Linked DNA regions of Homo sapiens: region 2 is linked to region 1. The links are contacts of gene promoters, found by promoter capture Hi-C in human tissues and cell types (Jung and others, 2019). All regions are on one chromosome and are shown on one strand. Each heading gives the region's core, a stretch centred on a gene start or on the middle of the fragment in contact. The rest is flanking DNA. Distances are from core to core; before and after follow the strand shown.

Evidence for each region. Contacts are between HindIII fragments. The study calls those that stand out against the background at their distance.
Region 2: the fragment with the promoter of DEFB129 here is called in contact with the fragment with the promoter of CSNK2A1 in region 1 in 2 of the 25 tissues and cell types used here (IMR-90 fibroblasts and lymphoblastoid cells).

The regions. Positions count from the first base shown.
Region 1 is chr20:541,265-548,055 of GRCh38, forward strand. CSNK2A1 (casein kinase 2 alpha 1) reads right to left here and starts at 2,526. Exons shown (of 14, transcript NM_177559.3): 1 at 2,408-2,526. RefSeq lists enhancers at 846-1,539, 2,233-2,926, 2,412-2,561, 2,582-2,661, 2,772-2,821 and 1 more and a silencer at 2,032-2,091. The HindIII fragment of the contact is 15,109 bases long and covers 141-6,791 here.
Region 2 is chr20:223,031-229,821 of GRCh38, forward strand. It overlaps DEFB129 (defensin beta 129), which reads left to right and starts at 4,228. Exons shown (of 2, transcript NM_080831.4): 1 at 4,228-4,316; 2 at 6,248-6,791. The coding sequence starts at 4,259. The coding sequence ends at 6,741. The HindIII fragment of the contact is 8,784 bases long and covers 1,427-6,791 here.

The sequences.
Region 1 (6,791 bases), core at 1,276-3,775:
AACCTTAATTACACCTGCCAAGTTCCTTTTGCCATGTAACACAGGATAGCTACAGATTCTGGGGATCAAGGTATGGCACCTTGGGAAGAGGGAGATGTAATTCTGCCTACTACAAATCCAAGTCCTATGGAAGGGTTTAAACTCACTTCCTAAAGAAAATCATCCCTTTCTTTAACAGAGTGTGAAGTAAAGATGTATATATTTTACTTATGTGAAGTAAAGTATATATACATACATACATATGTCTTTACTTATGTGACACAAAGATGTATGTTCAGAGATAGAGACAATAGTAAAAACAAGGACTCACTCTGGATGAGTGAGTAGGAAAAGGACGCGCAGTATGGAAAAGGAGTTGCCACCTGTTTCATCCTCAAATTGCAAGGCACTTCACCCATAACTACTTAGAAACTAACCCATGCTCCTCCTTAAATGTGTATTTCTCTTCTCTGTATTCCACAAAGGAGTACATAACTAGGCTTTTTTTTATTTTTAAAGAAAAGTCACCTCACGGGGACCTAACTGTATAATCAGTTGATTAATCAATCTAAGCAAATTTCCAATCTTGCATTCTTTCTTCAAGTCATACACCCTCCCGCAATAGCAAACCAAAGCCAAGTATTTCAAAGTCACAGAAGGACAAAAACATGCCCTGCTAAGACTGCAGGTGAACTTTTGAGAATACCACGGAGGAGAACTAGTATTGGTACTGGACTTTCAGCCCCAGGTCCACCAAGCCAGTAAAGCCAAATGACTTACAACAAAACCCTACAACAACTACAAAGATACTACTCTAAAGCCCTGTCTACAGTCAAATTCTTGACTATAAATTTTACTTAGAACAGAAGAGCCCCAAATATACCAGCTAGTCCCTTTACAGTGACAGGTAAAAGCTACTTACTACACTTACTACCTGCCAGACACTGTAGTAAGCACTTGACACAAATTGTCTTATTTACTCTTCTCCGTAAACTCACAAGCTAGAAAATACCATCATCCCCCTTTTACAGACGGGAAAACTGAGGCTTAGAGAGTTTAGGTCACACAGCTAAGTAGCAATGGCCCTGATATTTGAGAACCTAGGCAGTCTGGTTTTTAACCACTGGGCCTACACTGCACTCCTCAGATGGAATGAAGTCTCCAATTCTTGGAAAAATCTTCCCTTCTTAGTTTTCTTTTTTCTTTTTGAGGCGGAGTCTCGCTCTGTCGCCCAGGCTGGAGTGCAGTGGCGGATCTCAGCTCACTGCCACCTCCGCCTCCCAGGTTCAAGCGATTCTCCTGCCTTAGCCTCCCGAGTAGCTGGGATTACAGGCGCGCGCCACCAAGCCCGGCTGATATTTGCATTTTTAGTACAGACGGGGTTTCACCGTGTTGGTCAGGCTGGTCTCGAACTCCTGACCTCGTGATCCACCCGCCTCGGCCTCCCAGAGTGCTGGGATTACAGGCGTGAGCCACACGCCCGGCCTCTCTTCTTAGTTTTCATTTCCTCTCCCCATGTCCCATTCTCGTAGAATTAAACAGCTGAAAAGTAATCAAGTCTTCCCAAATAATTTGCCACCTTCTTTTCAAAACTCTTTCCTCCACACAAAGCAATAGCCAAGATGCAACTTCTCCTGACCCTGACTCTGCTTCCCCAAAACAAACTACAGAAGCTCCACCCATCACCTGCTTAATCTAGCAATGTTCCAACACTGCAAAAAACACACAACGAAAAACAAAATTGAAAAGTCCTACTCTTTCAAAAGGTCACCAACATATGTATACCCTTAGCCAAGCTTTCTCTCCATACCTCTTTTTCTATCCAGGCTCCTAACTAGTCCTTAACTCCAACTCCAGACGTTCTGCCCCACGTCTTGGTCCCTTCCCCCTTTCGCCCCAGCAACCCCGCCTGGGGTTCTCTCCACCTCGCACCCACTCTGCAGGTGGGAAGCTCAGCCCCGCCCAGAGGGACCCTAAGAAGGCCCCTACTCCAGCTGCCCAGTTTCGCGGGAGGGTTCACTGCACACTACCCAGCAGGCACCACTCCCTCCGCACCCTCCCCCAGCACCCCCCTGCGGCCCCACCCCTCAAGTTCCCTTCCCCCTCTGACGACCCCCTCCTCCAAGTTGTCCCCTAGTCCCCACCCAGTTCAGTCCTCTCCTCTGCAATAAGCTGGACTCCGGCAGCCGGTTCCCACCCTCACATCGGCCTCTGCCCCCAAACCTCGCCCTCCGCCCTGAGGGGTGGCCCCTGGGCCTCCCCGATGGGCTGCAGGGGCCTCGCTTGGTTTATGTGTGAAGGTGGGGGCAGGGGAAGGCGACGGGCCGCTCAGGAGTCTGCTGGAAGCGTGAGGGTCGGCCGCGCTCCGCTGCCCTATCCTGGGCCCACCCCACCCGCCAACGACCTCGCCTGGCTGCTCCCTAGGTACCTGTGGTGGAAGCGGCAGCGGCGGCGGCCGCTCTCCCCTCTGCTCACACAGACAATATGGCGGCGATGGAGGAGGAGACACACGGCTCGGCCGCCAGCCGCAGGGACCAGAGCGAGGCTGCAGCCGCTGCTGCCGGAAGCGGAAACCCCCTCCTACCAGGAGGCGGGGCGAGACAGCTTCCGACTCCGCCCCCAGAGGAATCTCTCTGAATGCGGCCATGCTGGGATGTCCTATTGTAACCTTAGGGATTCAGTTCTGGCCTAGGGTGCAAAATGGAAGGAATCCCCAACGCAAAGCAGAATAAGGAGACTTGCAATAGTTAAGCGCATTTTATTTCAATAGTGTTAACAAGTGACAACAGAGAGAACACGAACCTCCCATTAGGTGAACAGTTGGTTTGACCCAAGTTAAGATGGCGGTACCCAGGTTTCCCACACTTCACCCAGCTGGCCCCCCTTTCTTGAAAAGAACCATGCGCGACCTGCAGAGCTGTAGAGCCAAGCATTCTGGGAGCTGAAGTCTCTTTTGCTCTGACCCCTCGTTTTAAATTAGGGTTTCAGCAACACTTTCTATTCAAACTTGGAGTTCGGAAGAAGTGAATGAAAGTTGGACCCTAGGAAGGGCATGGCGCAGGAGTCTGAGAAGTGAGGATACTAGCTCTCAAGAGACCAAGGCCCAATTCCTTCCTCCTACAGGAGTCCTGCCAAGAGCTGTGCGTCCAAAATACAGTGTTTTTTTTTCCTTCTATCTGCCTCCCACCCCTGCTCTCCTTGCCCGAGCTACCTCCCCAAAACAGCCACAAAGCACTTTCTACCATGCAGAGCTCATCATGGTCTCCCTATGGTCAAAAATCTCCCATGGACCTCTTTATGCACCAAAGATAGCCCAAACTCTTCACTTGACATTCAGAGTCCTCCATAATTTGGCCAAACCCTCCTTTCCAGCCTCCTATTCTGCCACTCTCTTCTCAAATTCCGGAAGATTCCACCCACAAGACTGCAAACAATTCCTGGAACTTAGCTGTGTTGCCTCCCTCCCTTTACACTGGCAGTTACTTCTCTTACTGTCACCTCATGGACTGGATAATTTCTGTATGCCGATTGAACTAATTCAGGGATCCTTTCCTCTAGGGGTCTCCTCTCTGTTTAACTCCCTCCAACCCAGACACTATCAGTCAGTAACCTGAGGACCTCAGTCTGTCTCCTCCATCAGACTGGGAGCCCCCAGTGGACAGGGCTCCATCTGATGATCAACCTCTCCTTTGCAGGCCCTGATAAAAGCTGAAGCGTCTAAGAGTTGCTGAAAGGAGTTCAAGTATTAGTCTCACCTCTGGTGGGACAGAGGTGTGAGCACTGGAACGAGGGTGAGGAGGCCAGGTTCTTTCAGTACCAACCATTATCCCTAACTGTCTCAGAATAGCTGGTTGTCTCAGGAATGGGCCTCTCCACCCTCCACAGCCCTGCCTTCACAGTTTGTCAGCTGACTAGCACCTCTGCTCCCAAAGAGGCACCTCTTCCCCATGTGGGGTTAGGGCTGGTGGTGGCTGCAGACTTATAGTGATGGCCTCAGGGAGGTGGCTGTGGCCTTCTCTGGACCTCATCTGCTAGACAGCTTGTGACATCTGATCCCAATTGCCTGGGAACCCACAACAGTTTTTCTCTCAGTGTCCTGTAACTGGGCCTCAATTTCCCCACTTGTGGACTGAGGAGGTTATACAAGATAATCCCAAAGTTTCTGGGAAGCCATCTTCCAGGAAATGATACCCTTCTACCTACCTCTCGAACGTATCTTTTTGGCTCTTGTGGCTTTGTTTTTCCCAACTGTATTCACATTTGTTTAACTCACAACAATTCATCATTTGCTATGAGCCAGACACTGTGCTAGGTACTGGGGATGTGTTATGAGGAAGACATACACCAGTTGCTCACTGGTGGAGCTTACCTTCTAAAGTGAGAAGCAAGTAATGCACAGGTAAACAAATGCATAAACAAAGTAATTTCAGGTAGCAATAAGTGCTACGAAAGGAAAAGATAAGTAGCTGTGAAGTATAGAGCTTTAGCTTGAGTGGTTCAGAAGGTCCCTTTGAGAAGGAAACAGTAAGTGCAAACGTCCCAAGGCAGGAAAGAGCATCACAAGTTTGAAGAAGGAGGCCATGGTGGCTGAAGCACTGCAAATAAAGGGAAGAAGAGGAAGAAATATGGTGGGAGAGGTGGGCAGGGCATTCAGGTCATGATAAGGAAGCTGGGTTTTCATCTGAGTGTAGTGAGGATATTTCCCATTGCTTAGCCTTCATGCCTTTCCAATCTCAGCCTCTCTCACAGCATTAGTTCTTCATTCTTCTTCCTAGTTCTGGCCTCTATCCATGACTTCATTCAGAGGGCTCACCTGGGCACACATATACAACCCTCATACTCATGCAGGACATAATTGAAACCCAACTCCTGCCGTCTACTACGCCAGCCTCATGTAGGTCTCCGGTCTCAAGAGGCTTCCCATCCCAAGTGTTCACCTAGTTGTAGACTTAACATTTATCCTTAACTCTTACTGTCTCTGATCCCCCACATCACACCTCTCAGGCTAGTCTTTCTGCAAACAACAGCAGCAGAAGCAAGAGTTAAGATGTTGAGAGTACTTGCACTGTGCCACACACTGAATGTTCATCATCTCACTTAATCCTCATGTCAACCTGATGAGGTAGAAACCAAAAGTATCTCACCGTACAGATGAGGAGACTCAGGTTCACAGAGATCACAGGCCATGCCCAAGGTCACATGCCGGAGATGGAGCTTGCATTTCAACCTGGGCCATTAGAGTGACTCTCTCTCTCTCTCTCTCTTTTGAGACAGGATCTTGCTCTGTTGTCCAGGCTGGAGTGCAGTGGCATGATCACAGCTCATTATAACCTTGAACTCCTGTGCTTAAGCGATCCTCCCACCTTAGCCTCCTGAGTAGCTAGGACTACAGACATGCACCACCATGCCTGGCTCATTTTTAATTTAGTAGTATTATTATTACTATTATTATTATTGTACAGATGGGGTCTTGCTATGTTGCCAGGGCTGGTCTTGAACTCCTAGGCTCAAGCAGTTCCCCTGCCTTGGCCTCCCAAAGTGCTAGAATTACAGGCAAAAGTTTTAATCATGCACTAAGAACCTAAGTGTATTTGCTTTCTATTGCTGCTTAACAAAATCACCCCACAATATAGTGGCTTAAAACAACAATATTTTATGTTTGTGTGGATTGGCAGTTTGGACATGTCTCAGCCAGGACAGCTCTTTTCTGCTCCAAGTGGTCTTTCCTGGCTTACTCTTACGTTTGCTGTCAGTGAACAGGCCAGCAAACTGGTTAGAACTCCATGGCCTCATTCACATGTCTGGCAGTTGGTTGGGGTTGTTGGCTTGAGTGCCTTGGTTCTCCTCCATGTTGCTTCTTCAGTAAGCTAACTCAGGCTTACTTACATGACGGCCCCCAGAAGAAAGAAAACAAAAGCAGCAAGATCTCTTCAGATCTAGGCTTAGAAATGATATAGCATCATTTTCACTGTATTATATCGATCAAAGGCAGTCATATGGCCAGCTCAGATTCAAGGAGAGTAGAAATAGATTCCATCTCTTCATGAGAAAAACATCAAATCATACTGCAAGGAGTCATGTGTATAAGGAGGGTGGAATTGTTGTGGCCACCTTTGCAAACATTATATCACATAAGTAATCGTAGGCATGGAACTGGTTAAAGAAATTATGGTACAGCCAGACATGGGGCTATTCACAGCAATGAGAACTAACATTTTTGAGCACTTAATATGTGTCAGACACTGTACAAGATGCTTTACATCTATTAACTCATTTAATCCTCACAACAGCTCTCTGTGGCCAGTACATTTTTAATCCCCATTTTAGAGATTAAGAACACCAAGTCTCAGAGAGGTTAAACAACTAGTCCAATGTCACACAGCAAGTGACAAAGCCATTGAAAAGAATGAAGACAGTATTATGTCCTGACATAGAAATCTGGCCCTGACATTCTGTTATACGATACAAAGCAAGAGACAAACAGTAGTTTGATCAGAAAACATTTAAAAAGCACATTTAAATAATTAGGAGATGTGTGTCTTTTTTTTTTCTGAGATGGAGTTTCACTCTTGTTGCCCAGGGTGGAGTCCAATGATGCCATCTTGGCTCACTGCAACCTCCGCCTTCTGGGTTCAAGCGATTCTCCTGCCTCAACCTCCCGAGTAGCTGGGATTACAGGTGCCCACCATGCCCAGCTAATTTTTGTATTTTTAGTAGAGATGGGATTTCACCATGTTGGCCAGGCTGGTCTTGAACTCCTGACCTCAGGTGATTGCCTGTCTTGGCCTCCCAAAGTCCTGGGATTACAGGCA
Region 2 (6,791 bases), core at 2,978-5,477, 320 kb before region 1:
AAGGACTGATAATTAACAGTAAAAACAATTGTCAACATCATAGACTTCTCAGTTGGTTCAGTTAATGGAAATCTGACTAAAAAATTAAAGAAGAACAAACTTTCCACTTGATGGGCGCCAAAACCATTGTGCCAAAATCAGCTACAAACAAGAGCACAGCTTTCAATGAAACTTTAAACAAGTGGGATCAAGATCCTGAAGCATTTATTCAAAGCACTGTAACAAAAGTTGGAATCTGGCTTTACCAGTATGACCCTGAAGACAAAGCAAAATCAAAGCAAAGAGATGGAAGTGATCCAGTCCAAGCAAAAGCTGACCAGTTAAGAACAAAAGTCATGTCAACAATTTTTGGGGGTGCACAAGGCATTTTGCTTGTTGACTTTCTGGAGGGCCAAAGAACAATAACATCTGCTTATTATGAGAGTGTTTTGAGAAAGTTAGCCAAAGCTTTAGCTGAAAAATACCCAGGAAAACTTCACCAGAGAGTCCTTCTCCAACATGACAATGCTCCTGCTCATTCCCCTAGTCAAACAAGGGCAATTTTTCAAGCGTTTTGATGGAAAGTCATTAGGCATCCACATTGCCATCCTGACATGGCTCCTTTTGACTTCTTTTTATCTCCTAATCTTAAAAAAAAATCTTTAAAGGACACCAATTTTTCTTCAGTTAATAATGTAAAAGAACACTGATGTGGTTAAATTCCCAGGAAGCTCAGTCCTTCAGGGATAGACTAAGTGGCTGGTACCATTGCTTACAAAAGTGTCTTGAACTTGATGGAGCTTATGTTGAGAAATAAAGTTTATATCTTTATATTTTTATATTTTAATGTCATCTTCCACAAACTGTTTGAAGTTCCCTCATAACTAAAATGTCCCCACATGCTCAGATAAGAAACACATTTCTCAACCAATGTTTCTCAGATATTAAAGTACATACAAATCACCTGAGGATCTTCCTAATACGCAGATTTTGATTGACTCATTCTGAGATGAATTGAAATCCTGCATTTCTGACAAGCTCTCCGGAAGTGTTGATGCTTCTGGTCTTTCCACCACACTGTGAATAGCAAGGTTCAAACTAATTCATATGTCAGAAAAGATGACACAGTGGAAATTGAAGTGTTTATTTTTAAGTGAATGATTATGATAACAAAACACTGCAAATAAAAACTTATGAAGTCCAGCTAAAGCTGCATATAAAGGGAAAATTAGAGTCTTACCCACTTGGTTATACTGAAGAAAAGCTGAAAATGTATGAGATAACAACACAAATAATAAGTTAGAAAACAATAACAGAATAAAATGAAATTTTATTCAAAGAAGTTCAAAGAAAGGAAGATAAAGCTGAGAGGAGAAAATAATTAAATATTTTTTAATTTTCATAATATTTAAAATAAAATATAATTAAATAAAAATCAAACATAGAATCAACAAAACCAAAAGCTGATTTTGAAAAGACCAATTAATTAATTCACTATAGGAATAACAAAGAAAAAATTGAAAACACATTACCCATATGAAGAATAAAACACGTAGCCATCACTACAAACTCTATAGATAGTAAAGAGATCAAAGGACATATTGTGAGTGACCTTATGCCAAAAATGAAATTTAGAAGAAATAAACATTACTTGATGTGACCCAAGAAGAAATTGAAAATTTGACAGTTCTAAATTGTTAGGGAAATTAAATCTTAAATCTTTAAACTCAGTTGAGTTTTTCTGCTACATTCCAATGTCTGATCCCTAGCTCTATGGGTTTCAACAGACAGTTGTAGAAGCAGCAGAAAAATATCCTTGCTCTTATATTACAGCTACCGTGGTGTGTTCTTGAAGTCCAGCATGTCTAATCATGGGATCCTGTCACCCTACTTTCCTGACTATGAAAGAACTAGCAGATTCTCTGCTGGGCCAGTTTGTTGGAATGTTCTGGAAGTCATTCTGGGAGACCAAGCCCACAGTCAGCTTCTGTAGAGAGTTTATAAGCACATAATTCTGAGTATTAAAAATATTTCTGTTGAAAATAGCTAGTGTTTTTCATTTCCCAACTGATACACATAAATGCAACACTTTGCACATGTGAATAATTTGTCTTTTTACAAAATTATGCTACACTGTTGATAGATTCATTCCATATATACATGCAACATACTTAATTTTTCATAACTTTCCAATTCTTATTAACTCAACTTTTTGTTCCATAATAACTGTGCTTCTCTTTGTACCAGTACTTTCCATATTCTTATTGCTTTGGGACTAGCAAGACACAATGAGGTGAATAATGTTATTTCAATGCATCTTAAAACACCAGAAACCAATTAATATGCGATATTCAGGATTAACTGATTCCAAAGGGCTGTTAATTCCATCTCTTGATATTGACAAGTAGTAAGTAAATATGCCTAAGCTTGATTATTTTTGTTCATAGAAGTAAAATATACATTTCATAAAGTGAAAGTTCATAAGATTTGCTTTTATTGTTTTAAAAAATAACAGTTAATTTAAACAAAACTGAGGAGTCATTGGATACTATAGTAGCTAATGAAATCCTAAGAAGACATGAATTTCAGGAAGGCGAGGAACCAGGGAAACTCTTGAAACTTGAACAATTAATAATATTCAGAGCCAATGAGCTTCAATATCTGAGTTTCTTAGGAAATGTCCCAAATTAGCAGGGGAAAGCATCTGATTGGTAGGCTTGGTTCTATTGTTACACCTGGATCAATCAGCTACGACCAAGGAATCTGAGCAGTACACTATAAAAATTGCTGCTTTTAATTATTTCAACCATTGTGGAAGATAGTGTGGCAATCCCTCAAAAACCTAAAGTCAGAAATACCATTTGACCTAGCAATCCTATTACTGGGTATATGCCCAAAGGAATATAAATGGTTCTATTATAAAGACACATGCATGCATATGTTCACTGCAGCGCTATTCACAATAACAAAGACATAGAATCAACCCAAATGCCCATCATTTGGCCATTTGGATAAAGAATGGATAAAGAAAATGTGGTACATATATACCACGGAATACTATGCAGCCATAAAAAAGAATGAGATCGTGTCCTTTGCAGGGACATGGATGGAGCTGGAGGCCATTATCCTTAGCAAATGAAGGCAGAAACAGAAAACCAAATACTGCATGTTCTCACTTATAGGTGGGAGCAAAATGATGAGAACACATGGACACACAGAGGGGAACAACACACACTGGAGCTTACTGGAGAGTGGAAGGTGGGAGGAGGGAGAGGATGAGGAAAAATAACTAATGGACACTAGGCTTAATAGCTGGGTGATGAAATAATCTATACAACCAACCCCCATGACACACATTACCTATGTAACAAACCAGCACATCCTGCACATATACCCGCGAAGTTAAAAAAGTTTTTTTTTAGTTGCTACTTTAAAAGGATGTGGGAATCATTGTAAACTCAAAAGTTAAAGATGTGCCAAGAGCTGTCTCCCACGAACTTGTTTAACAAACGTACTGACTTTGTATGTTGATCCAATACCCATGCTGGCCACTGGACATACCAGTACAAACAAGGCAGAATCTTCACTCTCCTCTAGCTCTTCTAATTCTCATGCACTAAGTGCCAACCTTAGCATAACTGGGCTGACAATCAGTGAATCAAATATCTAACTCTTATCCTACTCCAACGTTAAGAAAGAGACATGCGACTGGGTGCGGTGGCTCATGCCTGGAACCCCAGCACTTTGGGAGGCCAAGGTGGGCGGATCACTTGAGGTCAGGAGTTTGAGACCAGCCTGGCCAACATGGTGAAACCCCGTCTCTACTGAAAATACAAAAGTTAGCTGGGCATGGTGGTGCATGCCTGTAGTCCCAGATACTCTACTTGGGAGGCTGAGGCAGGAGGATTGCCTGAACCTGGGAGGCGGAGGTTGCAGTGAGTCGAGATCACGCCACTGCACTCCAGCCTGGGCAACAGAGTGAGACTCCATCTCAAAAAAGCAAAAGAGAGACACATGCAAAGGGCTTGCTCTTTCTTTCTCATCTTACCTATCTTATGTTTTCCTCCAGGATCAAGAGCAAGGAATTTGTTGCATAGAGGTGTTCAAGAAAGGGTGTTTTCAAACAGAGTCAGAAAAAACACAACTATACTGCGAGCAGCATACAAACCTGCTTTGGCTGCACTTCACTGCTCATGGCATAAGGCCACGAAGAGGCCAATAAAGGCTGGAGCTCAGGAGCATCAACCCAGATTCAAGGCTTCCTCTCTGGCACCCAACCATGAAGCTCCTTTTTCCTATCTTTGCCAGCCTCATGCTACAGTACCAGGTGAACACAGGTAATGTGGATTCCCAAGTTTAAGATGGGTAGATGAGAGGAACCAAGGATTTGGCTGCCCATGACAATGGAAACCCAAAGAGAGGAGACTGAAAGATTAGCTGTTCAAAAAGATGGCTAAAGAGCTTACCTATTGTATCAGTCATGCACTGATACATTCTCATAGGCCCCAACTGCCAGATTGTGTCCAGTGGAAACACCCAGGAAGCTACAGAGAAAGCAGGGTATTTTTTGTCTATTCAGAAACTATCCAAAATATAATGCTGCCTTCCTGCCCTGTATATGTCTATCATGCTAAGACTAAGCCCAGGTCTACCTCCTTTTAGCTCTATTTCTATCTTAAAAGCCCTTTTTTTTTAAAAAAAGTCCTGGGGTACTTGTGCAGGATGTGCGGTTTGTTACATAGGTAAATGTGTGTCATGGTTATTTGCTGCACCTACCAACCCATCGCCCAGGTATTAAGCCCAGGATGCATTAGCTATTTTTCCTGATGCTCTCCCTCCACCCAACAGGCCCCAGTGTGTGTTGTTCCCCTTCCTGTGAAACCACCTCTTGAAGCAAAGTTTCCTATCAGTTTGTGCTTGGTGTAGAAAGGAGGAAGTTCTTCCCTCATGCTCAAAAAAAAACCCTTTCAAGATCAAGTAAACAGGCCTGTGTTCTCCATCTTGAATTCTTTCAGGTTTTCCAGAGCCTTTATCGCTTCTCTCAGACTTTGTCTTCCTGAAAACCCCCAAACTACCATAAGGGCATCTAGGAATGCATTATAGCAAAAGGCTAAGCCAGGGGATTAACCATTGTTTTTGGAAAAGAAAGGAGAAGCACTGAGATTTGTTTCAGAATACAAGAATCATCCAGCTATTTGAAAAAATTAGCAAAGGGTTTCGGGGCAGGGAAAGTGGAAGTGTCAAAGATGCTTCTAATGTTTTTATCTTCTAATGTTTTTATCTTGGGACCCTAGGAAAAGGGTAGTACCATAAGCAAGTATGGCTGTGTCATCTTGGGTAAAGTCACTTAACCACTTTGAACTTCAATTTCACATGAGTATAATGGGGTTAATCAATGCAGCTGATTCCAATATAAGAATTTTTCTGTTTCCCGTTTGATGAGAAAACAATGTGGAAATGTATGCAAATATGCTTTGAAAATTAGCAGATGCTACATAAATCTCTTGTAATTTAGGGAAAATCATTGGGTTATTAAGATGAACAAGGGAGAAAAGCTTTCTTGATTCAGAAAAAAGAAACACGAGACATTAGGATGGAAAAGTCATTCAGCAGATAAAGATAAGGTACTAAGCCGAGCAGGAAATTTAGAATTATAGATAACAATACAGAAGTTACCTTGGTGGATATGAGGTTAAGGCTAGGATAATGAATGAGACTTCTGAGAGATAGAGTGTCCAAAGAGGCTAGAAGAGATAGAACACCATGCTTCAGGAATCACAGATCTAGTGATTGTTGAGAAGAGAGAAGTCATGGGCTACTGAGTTTGGTGAAAAGATAAGACTCCTGAAAATTCTATTGATTCTCTTTTGAACTTCTTTCTTAAATTAGTTTTATGATGGACTTGGCTCTCATTGGTATTTCCCAAGATTATGGAGATGGGATAGTGATGTCTGACAAGTACCTAAGATGCTAAGTTGAAGGTCTAAAATTCCATCCTAAAAGCAAATAATTACTCTATCATCTACGTGCCCTTTGCTTCTTAAAGTTACTCAAGGAAGGCAGACTAAACAGGAAATTTACTTTGGATTCAAGAGGGGCATAGAGACGCTCTCAGCCTGCCCATTTGCCTTCATCAACATTCCTAAACACTGGGCTTAAAATGTAGTATGAGTAAACTCTCTCTTAGTCTATCCATCTCCCACTAGCAGTTTTAACATCATCTCTAGTTATTAACCTTGGCTCAATGGCTTTCTCTTTTTTTATACAGAATTTATTGGCTTGAGACGCTGTTTAATGGGTTTGGGGAGATGCAGGGATCACTGCAATGTGGATGAAAAAGAGATACAGAAATGCAAGATGAAAAAATGTTGTGTTGGACCAAAAGTGGTTAAATTGATTAAAAACTACCTGCAATATGGAACACCAAATGTACTTAATGAAGACGTCCAAGAAATGCTAAAACCTGCCAAGAATTCTAGTGCTGTGATACAAAGAAAACATATTTTATCTGTTCTCCCCCAAATCAAAAGCACTAGCTTTTTTGCTAATACCAACTTTGTCATCATTCCAAATGCCACCCCTATGAACTCTGCCACCATCAGCACTATGACCCCAGGACAGATCACATACACTGCTACTTCTACCAAGAGTAACACCAAAGAAAGCAGAGATTCTGCCACTGCCTCGCCACCACCAGCACCACCTCCACCAAACATACTGCCAACACCATCACTGGAGCTAGAGGAAGCAGAAGAGCAGTAATGTGGATCTTTCCCTTAAAACTCCAAGTTCCTCTCTATTTTTGCTATCTA